Regions from separate parts of the Homo sapiens genome. Here all the other regions are linked to region 2. Evidence: promoter capture Hi-C in human tissues and cell types (Jung and others, 2019). All regions are on one chromosome and are shown on one strand. Each heading gives the region's core, a stretch centred on a gene start or on the middle of the fragment in contact. The rest is flanking DNA. Distances are from core to core; before and after follow the strand shown. Region 1 overlaps TLN2 (talin 2). Region 2 holds the start of TLN2 (talin 2). Region 3 overlaps TLN2 (talin 2). Region 4 overlaps TLN2 (talin 2). Region 5 overlaps TLN2 (talin 2).

Region 1 (2,769 bases), core at 126-2,625, 190 kb before region 2:
TCTCCTGCCTCAGCCTCCTGGGTAGCTGGGACTACAGACTCATACCACTACGCCCGGCTAATTTTTGTATTTTTAGTAGAGACAGGGTTTTGCCATGTTGACCAGGCTGGTCTGGAACTCCTAATCTCAGGTGATCTGCCTGCCTCGGCCTCCCAAAGTGCTGGGATTACAGGTGTGAGCCACCGCACCCGGCCCACTATTCACTCTTTTGCTACAAACCTGGGGTCTGTGAATAAACTTCTCGACTCTTTGGTCTGTTGTCAACTAGGGAAATACACTATTTTACATTTATGCCTTCCTTCCCACCTCCAAAGCAAACAAAGGCTTTCACGGTATAACAATTGGAGAATGAAACAAAAAGATTCCCCTCTGTACACTATTCCCTCATCCCTGAACCCTAAGAGCACAAACGTGCTCTTATTCTCTTTCATTCCAACTTGGACCCTTTAAAAGAGCACAAAGCCACAAAGAATACCAACAGTAGAACCTGATGAACACCATAGGTAAGTGTTATTCATCAACTACTTGAGTTTTTCTTTTGGGAAAACAGAATGAGAGGTTCCAGTAAAAAGAGCAAGAAGGTACATGTACACAATAGAATACTATTCAGTGCTAAAAAGAAAAGCGCTATCAAGTCATGAAAAGACATGGAGGAAATTAAATCCACATTACTAACAGAAGAAGCCAATCTGAAAAGGCTACATACTATACAATTCCAACTCGATGACATTCTGGAAGAGGCAACACTAGGGAGACAGTAAAAAGATCACTGGTTGGGCCGGGCGCGGTGTCTCACACCTGTAATCATGGCACTTTAGGAGGCCAAGGCAGGCGGATCACTTGAGGTGTTAGGAGACCATCCGGGCCAACATGGTGAAACCCCATCTCTACTAAATATACAAAAATTAGCCGGGCATGGTGGTGGGCGCCTGTAATCCCAGCTACCTGGGAAGCTGAGGCAGGAGAATCACTTGGACCTGGGAGGCGGAAGTTGCTGAGAGCCGAGATCCTGTCATTGCACTCCAGCCTAGGCAACAAGACCGAAACTCTGTCTCAAAAAGAAAAAAAAAAAAAAAAAATCAGTGGTTGCCAGGGGTCAGGGGGCGGGGCGAAGGCAGGAAAAAATAAGCAGCACTGAGGATTTTTTGGGCAGTGAAACTACTTTGCATGATACTATAAAGGTGGATGTGTATCATTCTACATTTTTCCAAATCAAAAGAACGTGCAACACCAAGAATAAACCCTAGCCAGGTGCAGTGGTGCATGCCTATAATCCCAGCACTTTGGGAGGCGAAGATAGGTAGATCACTTGAACTCAGGAGTTAGAGACTAGCCTGGGCAACATGGCAAAACCCCATCTCTACAAAAAATACAAAAATTAGCTGGGTGTGGTGGTATGCGCCTATAGTACCGGCTACTCGCGAGGCTGAGGTAGGAGGATTGCCTGAGCCTGGGAGGTCAAGGCTGCACTGTGCCTAGATCTCGCCACTGTACTCCAGCCTGAGCAACAGAGCAAGACAATGGGAAGGAAGGGAGGGAGGGAGGGAGGGAGGTAGAGAGGGGAGAAGAGAGAAACTCTAAGGTAAACTATGGTCTTTAGGTGGTAATGATTTGTCAATATAGGTTCATCAACTATAACAAATGTACCACCCTAGCATGGGATGTTGGTAATGGGGAAGCTATGGGTACAGTAGATATAAAGGAACTCTCTGTACTTCCCACTCAATTTTGTTGTAAACCCAAAACTGCTCCGAAGAAATAAAACCTGTTAAAAATAAACAAAATATTTTTTAAAATACAGAGAGAAAGAGGTGTGGTGCTGCAGATGCCACCCAGGCACTGAAGCCAAGGAACTCCCTGTGGGAGATCTCCCCACTGCAGGCCAGGGCCTGGGAGAGGTGTAGAGTGACACATGTTGGCTTGGCCTGGGGAAGCAGCGATGGAGGATCTGGGATCCTCCTGGCCAGGTAGAGATCCTTTGACTGTATCAGAGCACTCGGGTTGAACAGGTGCTGCACACACAAGGCTCCACGCTGCTAGAACTGACCCTGGGAAGGTGCATGCTCCTCCATTTTTATTCTCACTGCCACCCTGACCATTAGCTCGAGGACTATTCCTACATGCTCGTAACCTCAGCAACTGCTTCTACAGTGACACAATCCAGCTGAAGGACATGCAGAGAGAGAATGTGACTTCCTCAAGTGGTGAATCTCACCTGAGTTTCCTTGCCAGTGGAAACTCTGTCATCTGTAATGAAGTATCTCGGGTCTGTAGCTAGGAGAAGGAGGGGCATCCTCTTCAGGGGACACGTTCCTATGAATACTCACACTGGCTCCATCCTCCAGCCTGCAAAGCCTGGCTGCCTGATGCCGTGAGCCAACACACCACAGCATAAATGCAACAGGAAGAAACAATCAAAGTGTACTGTGAGTCTTCTCAGCCCCCAGCAACCTAAGATAAGTATCACAAACAAGAACACGAGGTCATTTGAGAGGATTCTGCTAATCAAGACCGAATTAGATACTCAGGTATACATAATGCGGAAATCAGGAATACTCACTTTCCATAAATAAGAACCTGTCACCACTTGGCCCTGATTAGCAGTTATTGTAACCCTCAAAATTCATCTTTCCCAAGTGATTTTTCTATGCTGCTCTCTCTTACCATGTGAAGGCTGGTTTTCATAAAATTGCCACCTGATGTATTTCTCCAAAAGCTAAATTCCTCTTCTCTTTCCTCACATGGCCAGTGATTTTTTTGCATATTCGC
Region 2 (2,700 bases), core at 3-2,502:
GGACAGAGGAAGGCGGCAAGCCCAGCACGCTGTCCGTGACGGCGGCTCTCGTTCCCAAGCCCCGCCGGCTGGCGTGGCGACGCGCTGTAGTCCGCGCGCCCTTGCGGGGACAGCAGTCGTGCGCGCCTTGTGCGGCCGCCTCCGCGCCTGCCTCGGCGCGCAAACTTTCCCGGCGACAACCGATCAGGCCTCTCCGACTGGGGCGCGGGGCTCTCCCCGGGACCCAGAAACTGCTCGCCCCCTCCCCTCCGCAGTCAAGACCCACTGAAAATATGGCGCCCTCGAAAGTCGTTCCTCGGTCCCCTCAGGGATCCCGAAATACTCGTCTCCAGGTCCCTCCAGCTTCCAATGGGCGCAAAATTTCAGCTCGTGGGACCGAGGAAGGAGAGGGAGCCGCTGAGTCTGTGTGAGGCCAGCCGCACTGGATGCAAAGCCTGGCCCCGCTCTCGGCCCGGCACTGCCCCCGTCGCTCAGCGGCCAGCAGTTCGCCCGTGGCGAGATTGCCAAGTAAAGGGCAGTCGTGGGATCGGCAGGTCTGAGTGTCCGGCACCGGAGAAGGAACTCCGCACTGGCGGGCTGTCTTAGCCCAGAGCCTCGGCGGGAGACTTGTTTGCAAAGTGGCGCTGGAGTCCCGGCGGCCAGTGCTGGAATGAAGCTGCTCCTCCAGCGCCAACTCTTCTGGCGCGGGGGCCCGGCTGGGGTCGAGGGGACACTCTATGCAGGCGGGGCCGCTTTTCAAAGCCCAGTTACCGGAAACCCAGCGAGAGCCCCGGAGGGGACCGGCTGCCCACGGCCAGGAATCCGCTCTCTGGCGCCGACTGCGAGGCTGTTTGCAAACCGCTGCGCCCGGGTCCGGTGCAGTGAAACATACATGTGCAATAGACAGGTGCATTAATTTCATTTTATTTTTATTTTCCTGCAAGAAGCCCTCCTAGACCATCAAATCTGGGAGCTTTACGGGTTTTTCCTGCATTGGCATCACTCACGAGAAGCAAAAGGGAGGAAAAAAAACCCCACATTTTCCTTCTGGAGAGGGGAGGGAAAAGACACGAGAAATTCATGCAACGTGCATGCAGCTGGAGGAAGAGGAAAACCCGAGTGAGCCGTGCGCCTTACCGGGGGATGCATTTACTGTCTCATTGCAGAGCGCCTGCCCGGGAGTGCAGCCCGCGTCCCCCCGCGCGCTGGGCGACCACTCCGCTCCCGCAGCCGCCTCAGCCGCTGCCGCCGCCGCTGGCTCCGGGCGCGGAACAAGAGCCGAGGGCGAGCGCGAGCGCACTGCCCGAGAGCGCTGGGAGGGCAGGAAGCGCGTCATCATTCGGGGACGGCGCGGCGCCGGTCCGGCCGCGGCGCCGCGCGGCACCGGGGTGGGCCGCCACCGAGGCTCAGGCGCCCGTCCTGGGTTTCCTCCCACGCGTGGTGATGCTGAAAGGGTCCGCGAGGGAAGGTGATGCACCGGCCGAGCTGTCACGGGGAAGGGAGGCTCGGGGTGACCCCGGCTTCCCAGAATTGGGGCTCTGCTGTGTAAAGGGGATGACTGCAGGACACAGCGTCTTGTAGGCTGGGGCCCCTAGGTCCGCAGAGTGCCCTCTCGGGACCTCTGGCCCGGTCCTGGGGGAAGCGAGCTGTGGCTAACTGGAGGGCCGTGGTGGGCGGTGGGGTCTTGCTGCGAAGCGGAGGGCCGTGACCCCAGGCGAGCCTGCTCCTTTCAGCACAAGGACCCTGAAACCTTGCTGGTCAGGTGTCACTTAGGTATTTAGAGAACGACTATAGGGATGAGTGGCGGTAGGGGCGTGCTGTGTTGATAAGAAGAAAATAATTCACTCCTGCTTGCCATGCCCTGAATAAAGTCAGTTATATACCTCTTACATTTACAGTCATTATTAGTAAATACTGTAAATACCATGGAACAATGTGAAGGTTATTCAAGGGGGTGAGGAGACAAAACACTATGTACCGTATGGTCCCGTTTTTAAAAACTGTGATTTATGGAGAAAGGCAGAAAAGACTGGATAGATAAACACCAATAAGTCTCTCAGTGATTGGTGGAATTGTGAGTAATTTTACTTTTTTATTTATCTGTAAGGGACACATTAGTAATTTAAAAAAACAAGAATTAGCCATGACCCCTTTACTCCTAGTACTTTGGGAGGCCAAAGCAGGAAGATCTCAAGCCCAAGGAGTTTAAGATCGGCCTGGGCAATATAGCGAGACCTTATCTCTACAAAAAAAATTAAAAATCAGCCGGGTGTGGGGGCGCATGCCTGTAGTCCCAGTTACTGGGGAGAATGGTGGGAGGATCGCTTGAGCCCGGGAGCTCGGGGGCTGCATGAGCGGTGATCCTACCACTGCACTCCAGCCTGGATGACAGAGCGGGACTCTGTCTCAAAAAAGAAAAAAAAAAGGAAAGACGACATTATTTCCATCCCAATACAGAATGGACCAGGAAATAGGTAGCAAATCTATTCAGTTACTCAAATGGAACTGCTGGCAACTTTTTAGTGTTTCTCAGAGAAAGAAACTGCTGTCACCATAAACCGGAGACTGAATTGATTTTGTAAATTGAAATTATTTTGAATAAGTCCGTTGGAACATTGGATAAGGCTGGACATTCTGTGAGAACAATACCCTGTCCTTAACCAGGCTGATGAACCGGACTGTATGTATCATAGCAGCAAAGATAACCTTAGGGTACAACTT
Region 3 (2,700 bases), core at 189-2,688, 160 kb before region 2:
GAAGGTTGAGGCTGCGGTGAGCCCTGATCGTGCCACTGCACTCCAGCCTGGATGACAAAGTGAGACCCTGTAAAAGAAAAGAAAAAAAGAGAAGAGAAGAGAAAAAAAAGAAAATGGCATTTAAAAAAATTCTACTCATAATAGCAAATAGGAATAGAAAGAAGGGTAGGAGGGGAAAGGAAAAAAAAAACTCCTAAGAAATAAACCTACCCATATATATGCCAAACCAATCTTATTTTAAATTTTACTACATGACATTAAAAAAAACCAAAAAGATACAATAATGGAGAGAACTACCATTTCCCAGATGAGAAGACTCAATATTGTAAGACAACAATTCTTCCTCAGTTTGTAAAGTCAACTAAGTCAACGTTAAGTCAACGAGCATCTCAACTCAGAAAACTAATCTTAAAGTCCAACTGGAAGAGAAAAACCTTTAGGATGACCAAAAAAAAAAAAAAAAAGTTTAAAAAATAAGAATAATGAAAGGAAATATCCTCATAAAATCAAATATAGTACAAAGCTACAGTAACAAAAACAGAGTGACAGCATTATGAAAATAGACATATTCTATTATCACTAGAACAGGAGAGTATAGAAAGCAAATACATTGATATTTAGGATACAATAAAGATATTTAAAACTGGCACAAAAAGAGCAAACTGTTTGACACATTATACCGGGAAAAGTAAAAATCCACATACAAATTAAGTTGCAGCTCTACTGCTATCATACACAAGAACAAATCCTAGGTAGACTAGACAGATAAATATTTTTAAAACTACCAGAAAAAGAGACAAAGAATATCAAGTATATTTACAAAACTCAGAAGACATAAAGAAAAGTTCACAGGTGTGGCAAACGCCACAGTTAAAACCTATATTTCATAAACAAAGTTCAAAGACAGCAAGAAAGTGACATTATTTACAAAGGATCTTCTGAGGAGGGACACAATCTAATCTATTACTTTTACTCTGAAGCTTTCTACAATGTTTAAATCTTTCAGAGCAAGCAAGAATTCATTCATGCTATAAATAAAAATCTTCAGACAAAAAAAGGTTAATATAAAGGAACACTTCAACTGAGTCTTTTCATAAATATTCACAAATGAAAAATTAGTAACGTAAAAAAAAGTTTGCTTGCTATTTTTTAGGAATAAAATTAAGAAAGGAACATGGACAACTATCTGAAATATTTTTCCTTGAAACATTCTACTAAGGGCCTCTCCCATAGATGTTCTGCAGGAAAAGCTTCGCACTTCAAAGGGTGTGCCTGTAGGATTTAGATGACTATCTGAATACCTGCACTAGTAAACAAACAAAAATCACCCCAAGAGTAAACTAAGAATATCACAGGGAAGAAATCTCCTAATTCCTAACCAGTGAGAAGGGTGTTTTTTTTTTTCTTTCTAAATAGAATTTATAAACTTCAAAAATTCTGTGAATTTTTCACAGCAAAGCAAGTGTACACGAATTTTCTAAATCTACATCTCTGCCAGACCCTTAAGTTTTCTCCACACCTGCAAGGAGAACTCCTGGCATCTTGCTAGAGTGCTGAATTTGGGACAGAGGTGCAAAGTTATCACGTAAGTGGTACTCTCTCACTGGAAAATAGAATCCTATGGCTCTTAACAATGCTCGAGGCCTGTCTCCTTGTTAGGTGAAACTGAGGCCTGGGTACTGGGTGGCTTATCCCCTTAACTCAGTCAGTAGCATTATCCAGCTTTTTCCGTTTGTTCCAGAAAATAGTTCTTACTGGCCTTGGTAAAAGTGTATTTTTTATTTTTTTCTAAGCAGTAAACAGGTAATCCTAAACCTTTACAATTTCTCTGTCCCATCATCCTAGAAAGGATTTATCTGACTTATTTCAAAGTTCTACAATTCTCCTGAGTTTTTCTGTCAGTCAAAACTGTGAACATTTTAGTATCTCTTTCCCAGTAGCGTTTTCATTGTCTAAGTCATCTTAAGTTAAAACTACAGCTTTCTGGTATAAATAGGGCTTAAAACTCAACCAAAATTCTATATCTGGTATCAACAGCTGGTACAAGGTCTCACTTCCTCATACTAGATCAAGGAAATCTTTATCTACGGAAATTCTATTCATACTATTAAATAGTCCCTATATTCCCTGAAATACATGAATGAGCATCAACCAAGCTTTAATATCCTCTTTTCTCCTGCCACAGTGAGGGGGGCAGGGGTTAGAGAATCACTTTAACACTAAAGTGTTTTCCTCACATTGTACTCATTCCAGAAACAACTGTTGTAATAATTTAGATTAAGCATCTTGGTTGATCCTAGATAATGTTTACCCAACTGCATCTAGTCATTAACTACTTATCTACCTGAAAATTGAGTCCTTGAAATCCTCTGTCAAGTCTAGTGAAAGAAAATAATAAAACTGCAAGACTGAATCTGTGTTATGTTCTGTAGCTCTAGCTACTGGCAAAAAAAAAAAAAAAGATTAGATTAAAAGATATGCATCCCAAGCTAATTGCACAGCATAAAAAGTAAACCACAGCTATTAAACAGAAGCATCACTATATAATTTCTCTTGACAACTTAAGCATTTTAATAAGTATTTTATAAATAATAAGGAAGCATTTTTCCACCTAAATTATATGCAATAACAAAGCATAATGCTAAGGGCACATAATAGGCAAAAATTCAGTCCCTTCTATATTAAATTAGGGGTATTTAA
Region 4 (2,756 bases), core at 142-2,641, 210 kb before region 2:
AGGCCTAGCTGGATTCTATCATCGCTAAACTTTTTTACTGTTAAACCACAGGCATTCCTTTCCTGGTATTATTTACAATAATTTCAACCTAAAAAAAATATCTTTTGGGGCCAGGCGTGGTGGTTCACGCCTGTAATCCCAGCGCTTTGGGAGGCTGAGGTGGGTGGATCGCCTGAGGTCAGGAATTCGAGACCAGCCTGACCAACAGGGGAAACCCTGTCTCTACTAAAAATACAAAAAAAAAAAAAAATTAGCCAAGCATGGTGGTGGGTGCCTATAGTCCCAGCTGCATGGGAGGCTGAGGCAGGAAAATTGCTTGAACCTGGGAGGCGGAGGTTGCAGTGAGCTGAGATTACACCACTGCACTCCAGCCTGGGCGACAGAGTGAGACTCCGTCTCAAAAAACAAAAAAAAAATCTTTTTGAAATGGTAAACACTGTCTTCTTATTAAGTTCTATCAGTCATCACTAGCACTATCGACTAACACTACTTAACTAGTGACACTGGTGTAACACTACTACCTCTAGACAAGTCTATCAAAATGTATCACATGAAATGTATCTAAAGAAGGGAAATTCTGACAGACTGCCCTTCTGCCCCTGATTGTGGTACCAGGCACATCTGAAGAGACATTTCGTGAAGATGGGAAGGGTAGTTCGCTTGCAGCTTGGGGAGGCTGCAGGTCTAAACATCATATATTGATTGCCCAGATCTCTTTGCTGCTACGGTGTCCAACGTGACTTAGATACACCAATGACATGGGCTTATAGGTGACTCTGGTGTTCAACCGAGTCACAAGGAAGAAAAGCAGAGCACACGGTTATCCACAAGAAGCAAGATCTCCCCATGGAGGAGGCGTGTGTTCTGAGCTGGCAGGTCAAGTACCGGATTCTCAATTCAACAGCCTCTCATAGCAGCAGCCACAGCCTAACTTCCCTGGTTCTGGTAGGAAAAGATGGTGCTGGGGATAGGGAGTAGACTGGAAGCTCAGCCCAGAGCCTGTTCCTCCCAAACTGCCAAGGATTCCTGATTCGCTTGCCCATGGATTAAATCGACTCCAGCTTTAATTCCCTAGAGTAGATTCTGTGTCCAATACAGGAAATGTGAATAACAACAAGAAGCTCATCGCTTTTACTAGTTTATTAAATTTGTAAAATGTTACGTATAAAATACTCAGACACAAAGGATAAGGAAACAAACTCAATTTATTTTAATTATATTTTAGTATAATAGCATTTAGGCTAGGATATTTCATATAAACTATAGTATTGCCCAATTTTATAAACTTAAACCTACACTGTAATTCACCTCATTCATAAACATGAGAAAATTTGACCTACTTTCTAATATATTCAGCTCCTTGTCTGCATTAATCTGCAGTGACATTTTAAAAGTTCCTCTAATAATTTCCATTATATGAAAATGCACTTTTCATTTACATCACCTTTGATTTTCTTCCCACAAACAAAATACTGTTTTTTCAACAGTTAGCCTGCAAATGTAGTAAGAAACAAGACATACAAGACAGCTGATACAAAAAGTTCACCTATGATGGGGCTCAGTCTTGGGTTTCTTAATGGGGGAAAGGAGGAGGAGGAGGAGGAGGCGGCGGCAGCGGCAAATAATGAGAAAATTTTGCCCTAGGTCCACACGCTACAGGATGGTAGGCTTGCGTCTGTGTATAATCTATGGAAAATCAGAGAACACAGCTTTGAGAGATTAATATAAATCCCTTATCGCATAATATGAGCTCCATGCTTCCTAATAGTTCCATAATCTCAAATAATTAAAAAAAAAAAAAAAAGAAGACGAAGAGAAGAAATCCACTTTCCACTCCCACGGCCTCCTTCCAACTACACACTGCAACCACCAACACCCTCCTGAACCTGGGCTCCCTCTCTCTTATGAAGCTCTCTTTAATATACTGTTGACAATCGCCCCCCACCCTTTTCTTTTTTTTTTTTTTTTTTTTTTAAGACAAGGTCTCACTTTGTCACCCAGGCTGGAGTGCAGTGACTCAATCATGGCTCACTGCACCATCAAATCTTCTACCTCAGTCTCCCAAGTGGCTGGGACGGGAGGTGCATGTCACTACCCACTACCCCCAGCTAATTTGTGTGTGGTATTTTTTGTTTGTTTTTGTTTTTAAGAAATGGGGTTTCACTTTGTTGCCTAGGATGGTCTCGAACTCCTAGGCTCAAGTAATCCTCCCACCTCAGCTTCCCACAGTGCTGAATTACAGTTGAGAGCCACCATGCCCCGCCTTGACAACCCTTTTGAGCAGCTCCCTCATATGTGCAAGAATTTTCTATGGCTCCCGAATGCCTAGAGCACAGGTTGACAAACTATGGCTCAAAAGCTAAGAATGGTTTTTATAATTTTAAAGGGTTAAGGAAAAAAACCAAATGAATTATATTTCATGATACATAGAAATTATATGACATTCAGATTTCAGTGTCCATAAATCAAGTTTCATTGGAACACAGCCACACCCATTTATGACTTGTCTATGCCTGCTTTCTGTGTGCCAACAGCAGAGTTGAATAGCTGCAACATAGGCAGTAGCCTCAAATATTTGTAGTTGAGTCCTTTGCCAGAAAAGATTGCTAACTTCTGGCCTACATTGCAAAATCCATAGCCTTTGGCCTAGCAATACAGGTCATCAAAATATCTAACAGACCTTCCTATAAACCTTATTTACTGCTACTTGAAGACATAACACAGATTCCACCGAAATGTCCTTCTCTATTTCTCCC
Region 5 (2,700 bases), core at 50-2,549, 240 kb before region 2:
GGAATAAGAGCCTAGGTCACTCTGATCACTAAAGTCCTTCCAACATCTAAGTGATTCGAGGATGAAGTCACACCTCTAAGGGTTCAGGTCGTTAGGAGTCCTTGAGGTTCCTGAAGGGCTCCAAGATTATTCTGGGGCCTTCTCGACCTTTCCAGACAAGACCTAAGCAGGTGAGATTTAGTCAGAACAGAAATGGCCTCCAGCACAAGCAAGAGCTGCTCAACTTTAATGCCACGCCCCACAGGGGCACTAGTCCCCAGAATGAGACTATGTACTCCGTTAACTACTTATTATCATTGACTGCCTCTAAGCAGGCGCTGGGGCTGTCTAGAAAGCTGTGACAATAAGTTTGTATGAAAGATTCGGGGGGAGCACACATAACTTCTAACTAGTGCCCACAGAGACTTTGGAGCCACTCTCTTACCGGTGGTCCAATGGCTGTACCTACTGTGATCCTTGTGGGCTCGCACATCACCACAGCTCCTGATGAAACTGAGGTTGACAGATTTTATCATCATCTATAGAGAGGAGACTATTAAAAAATACCTCACTATAAAACTATCAAGGCCGGGCATGGTGGCTCATGCCCATAATCCCAGCACTTTGGGAAGCCAAGGCACGAGGATGGTTTGAGCCCAGGAATTCAACAGCTTGGGAAACATAGGGAGACCCCGTCTATACCAAAAAACAAAAAGAAAAGAGAGAAAGAAGAAAAAGCGGGAGGAGGGAGGGAGGGAGGGAGAGAAAGAAAGAAAGACAGAAAGAGAGGAGGAAAGAGAAAGAAAGAAAAAGAAGGAAAGAAAGAGAAAGAAAGGGAGGGAGGAGGGAAGGGAGAGGGAGAGAGAGAGAGTGAAAGAAGAGAGAGAAAGAAAGGAAAGGAAAGGAAAGGAAAGGAATGGAAAGGAAAGGAAAGGAAAGGAAAGGAAGAAAGAAAGAAAGAAAAGAGGAAGAAAGAAAGAAAGAAAAGAGGAAGAGAGAGAGAAAGAAAGAGAAAGGAAGGAAGAAAGGAAGAAAGGAAGAAAACTATCAAACCTGAAAAAATAATGGATGAGTGATTATTTGTGCTAGAGAAGAGAAGGCATCTTGACTTAGGAATCCACTGAGCAAGCTTCCTCTATTACGGTTTGCATGTGTCTTCTCCAAAATTCATGTTGAAACTTAATCCCCAATACAACAGTATTAAGAGGTGGGGCCTTTAGGAAGTGATTTGGCTCTGACAAGGCTGAAGTCAAGACAAGGAGAGGAGGCAGAAAGGAGAGAGAGAGACTGCAACCTGGGAGGTATGAGAAGCTGCGGAACTCATAGGAAGCTGCAAGCCAACAGAGTCTATTTTGCTTTTGGGGATCCTTTGGTTATATATCCATATTCCCCTGATTGTTACTATCCTGGGTGAGAAAAGGCTAGCTAAGCATTTCAATGCCTTAGAAAAAAAAATGGCTTATTCAAATGAAAAAATCTTTTAAGTTTTCTTTTCTATTTATCTTTCGAAAGACATCTAGAAATTTACTGGGGGGAAGATGTCTTTTCATTCCCCCTTCACACTCCTCCCCCTCTCTTTAGTGATGAATCTCTTGGTGAACTCGTCTGAATGTCAAAAAGAAAAAGACATCTTCTCAGAAAAATATAAATATTTATAGACAGCATTACTCCATCACCCCTGAAATGTTAAACAGAGCTGTTTCTCCATTCTCTTCTTTATTGATTTAGTTATGTGGTACATAATCAGAAAGCCAAAAAAAAAAGGTAACGGTGGAACTCAAATCACCAGGTCATGCATCAAATAAACGCAGACCAAAAAACATTCATTAAATCTTGTTGTGATATACCTCCAGAGAGCAGTAACAGAAATAAAAAAAATCAATGTCAAAACAAACCTGGCCTCGGACTGCTGGAGAATGGCTGCTCACAGACCTTCCTCTGTGATGAGATCCCGACGTCTGTGGCACTTCTCCTCCTCTGAGTTATGTGCTCTCTTAGGGCTAAGTCCCACCAGTATGACCGCAGGGCCAGTGGGAACAGAGTGGGATGTATTTAAAAGCAAAAATATCAGGGAGTCAAGTCCTCATTCAGCACCAAAAATGTCTGAGTGGCCCTCCTCAACTTTCTCACCGGGTTTTAGCCTAGACAACTTTTAAGGAAGGTAAGTACCTTAGAAGTCATCTAGTCTAAAACCCAAGTCTGTTTTCTGGATCTCTCTTCTGATACCTAAAATCTGGCTTTACCTAAATGACCTGTCCTCTTTCCAAGTGATAGTCAACCTACTAATAAGCAAAAATGATGATTAGTTGGTGCCATATTTCCAGTTTTTCCAATAGTTACAGAAAGGCTACCTGTGACAGTAGATGTGATTTTACAGTGTTACTAATGATCATTCTGGCAGCTCGTTATATACACGACACAACTGAAAATAACCCCACCAAAGAAACAAAAAAAGATAATTTCCTGACTTTAAAGACATAGAAGAGATTCTCTAGATTAAGAACAATGGGAAAAGGATGTTAAAATGATCTATGGTGCCCTCAATTACCTTTAAAATGCTCATGTATTTTCTAAGGGATTTTCACAAAGCTTCAATGTATTAGGACTCTCAATTTTAACTGCTGCCTGGGGCTTTACCCTACTTATTTTAAAATAATTTAATATTTGCCTTTTGTTGGGTCCCAAAAACAAAATGTACTCAAAAACATACACTTTGAAAGA

Evidence for each region. Contacts are between HindIII fragments. The study calls those that stand out against the background at their distance.
Region 1: a fragment that was not itself captured here is called in contact with the fragment with the promoter of TLN2 in region 2 in 1 of the 25 tissues and cell types used here (mesenchymal stem cells).
Region 3: a contact is called between a fragment that was not itself captured here and the fragment with the promoter of TLN2 in region 2, in 4 of the 25 tissues and cell types used here (adrenal gland, aorta, heart right ventricle and 1 more).
Region 4: a fragment that was not itself captured here is called in contact with the fragment with the promoter of TLN2 in region 2 in 1 of the 25 tissues and cell types used here (H1 embryonic stem cells).
Region 5: a fragment that was not itself captured here is called in contact with the fragment with the promoter of TLN2 in region 2 in 3 of the 25 tissues and cell types used here (IMR-90 fibroblasts, aorta and heart left ventricle).

What each region holds. Positions count from the first base shown.
Region 1 is chr15:62,579,187-62,581,955 of GRCh38, reverse strand. The region is part of intron 1 of TLN2 (talin 2); the gene reads right to left. Among named protein-coding and RNA genes, the nearest start is that of MGC15885, 65 kb to the left of the region's middle. The HindIII fragment of the contact is 7,026 bases long and covers 1-2,769 here.
Region 2 is chr15:62,389,102-62,391,801 of GRCh38, reverse strand. It overlaps TLN2 (talin 2), which reads right to left and starts at 1,252. Exons shown (of 59, transcript NM_015059.3): 1 at 1,117-1,252. RefSeq lists enhancers at 230-844, 1,763-1,832 and silencers at 1,023-1,352, 1,400-1,596. The HindIII fragment of the contact is 23,885 bases long and covers 1-2,700 here.
Region 3 is chr15:62,553,699-62,556,398 of GRCh38, reverse strand. The region is part of intron 1 of TLN2 (talin 2); the gene reads right to left. Among named protein-coding and RNA genes, the nearest start is that of MGC15885, 90 kb to the left of the region's middle. The HindIII fragment of the contact is 4,460 bases long and covers 1-2,700 here.
Region 4 is chr15:62,603,743-62,606,498 of GRCh38, reverse strand. All of the region lies in intron 2 of TLN2 (talin 2), which reads right to left. Among named protein-coding and RNA genes, the nearest start is that of MGC15885, 40 kb to the left of the region's middle. The HindIII fragment of the contact is 6,822 bases long and covers 1-2,756 here.
Region 5 is chr15:62,629,745-62,632,444 of GRCh38, reverse strand. All of the region lies in intron 3 of TLN2 (talin 2), which reads right to left. Among named protein-coding and RNA genes, the nearest start is that of MGC15885, 14 kb to the left of the region's middle. The HindIII fragment of the contact is 6,002 bases long and covers 1-2,700 here.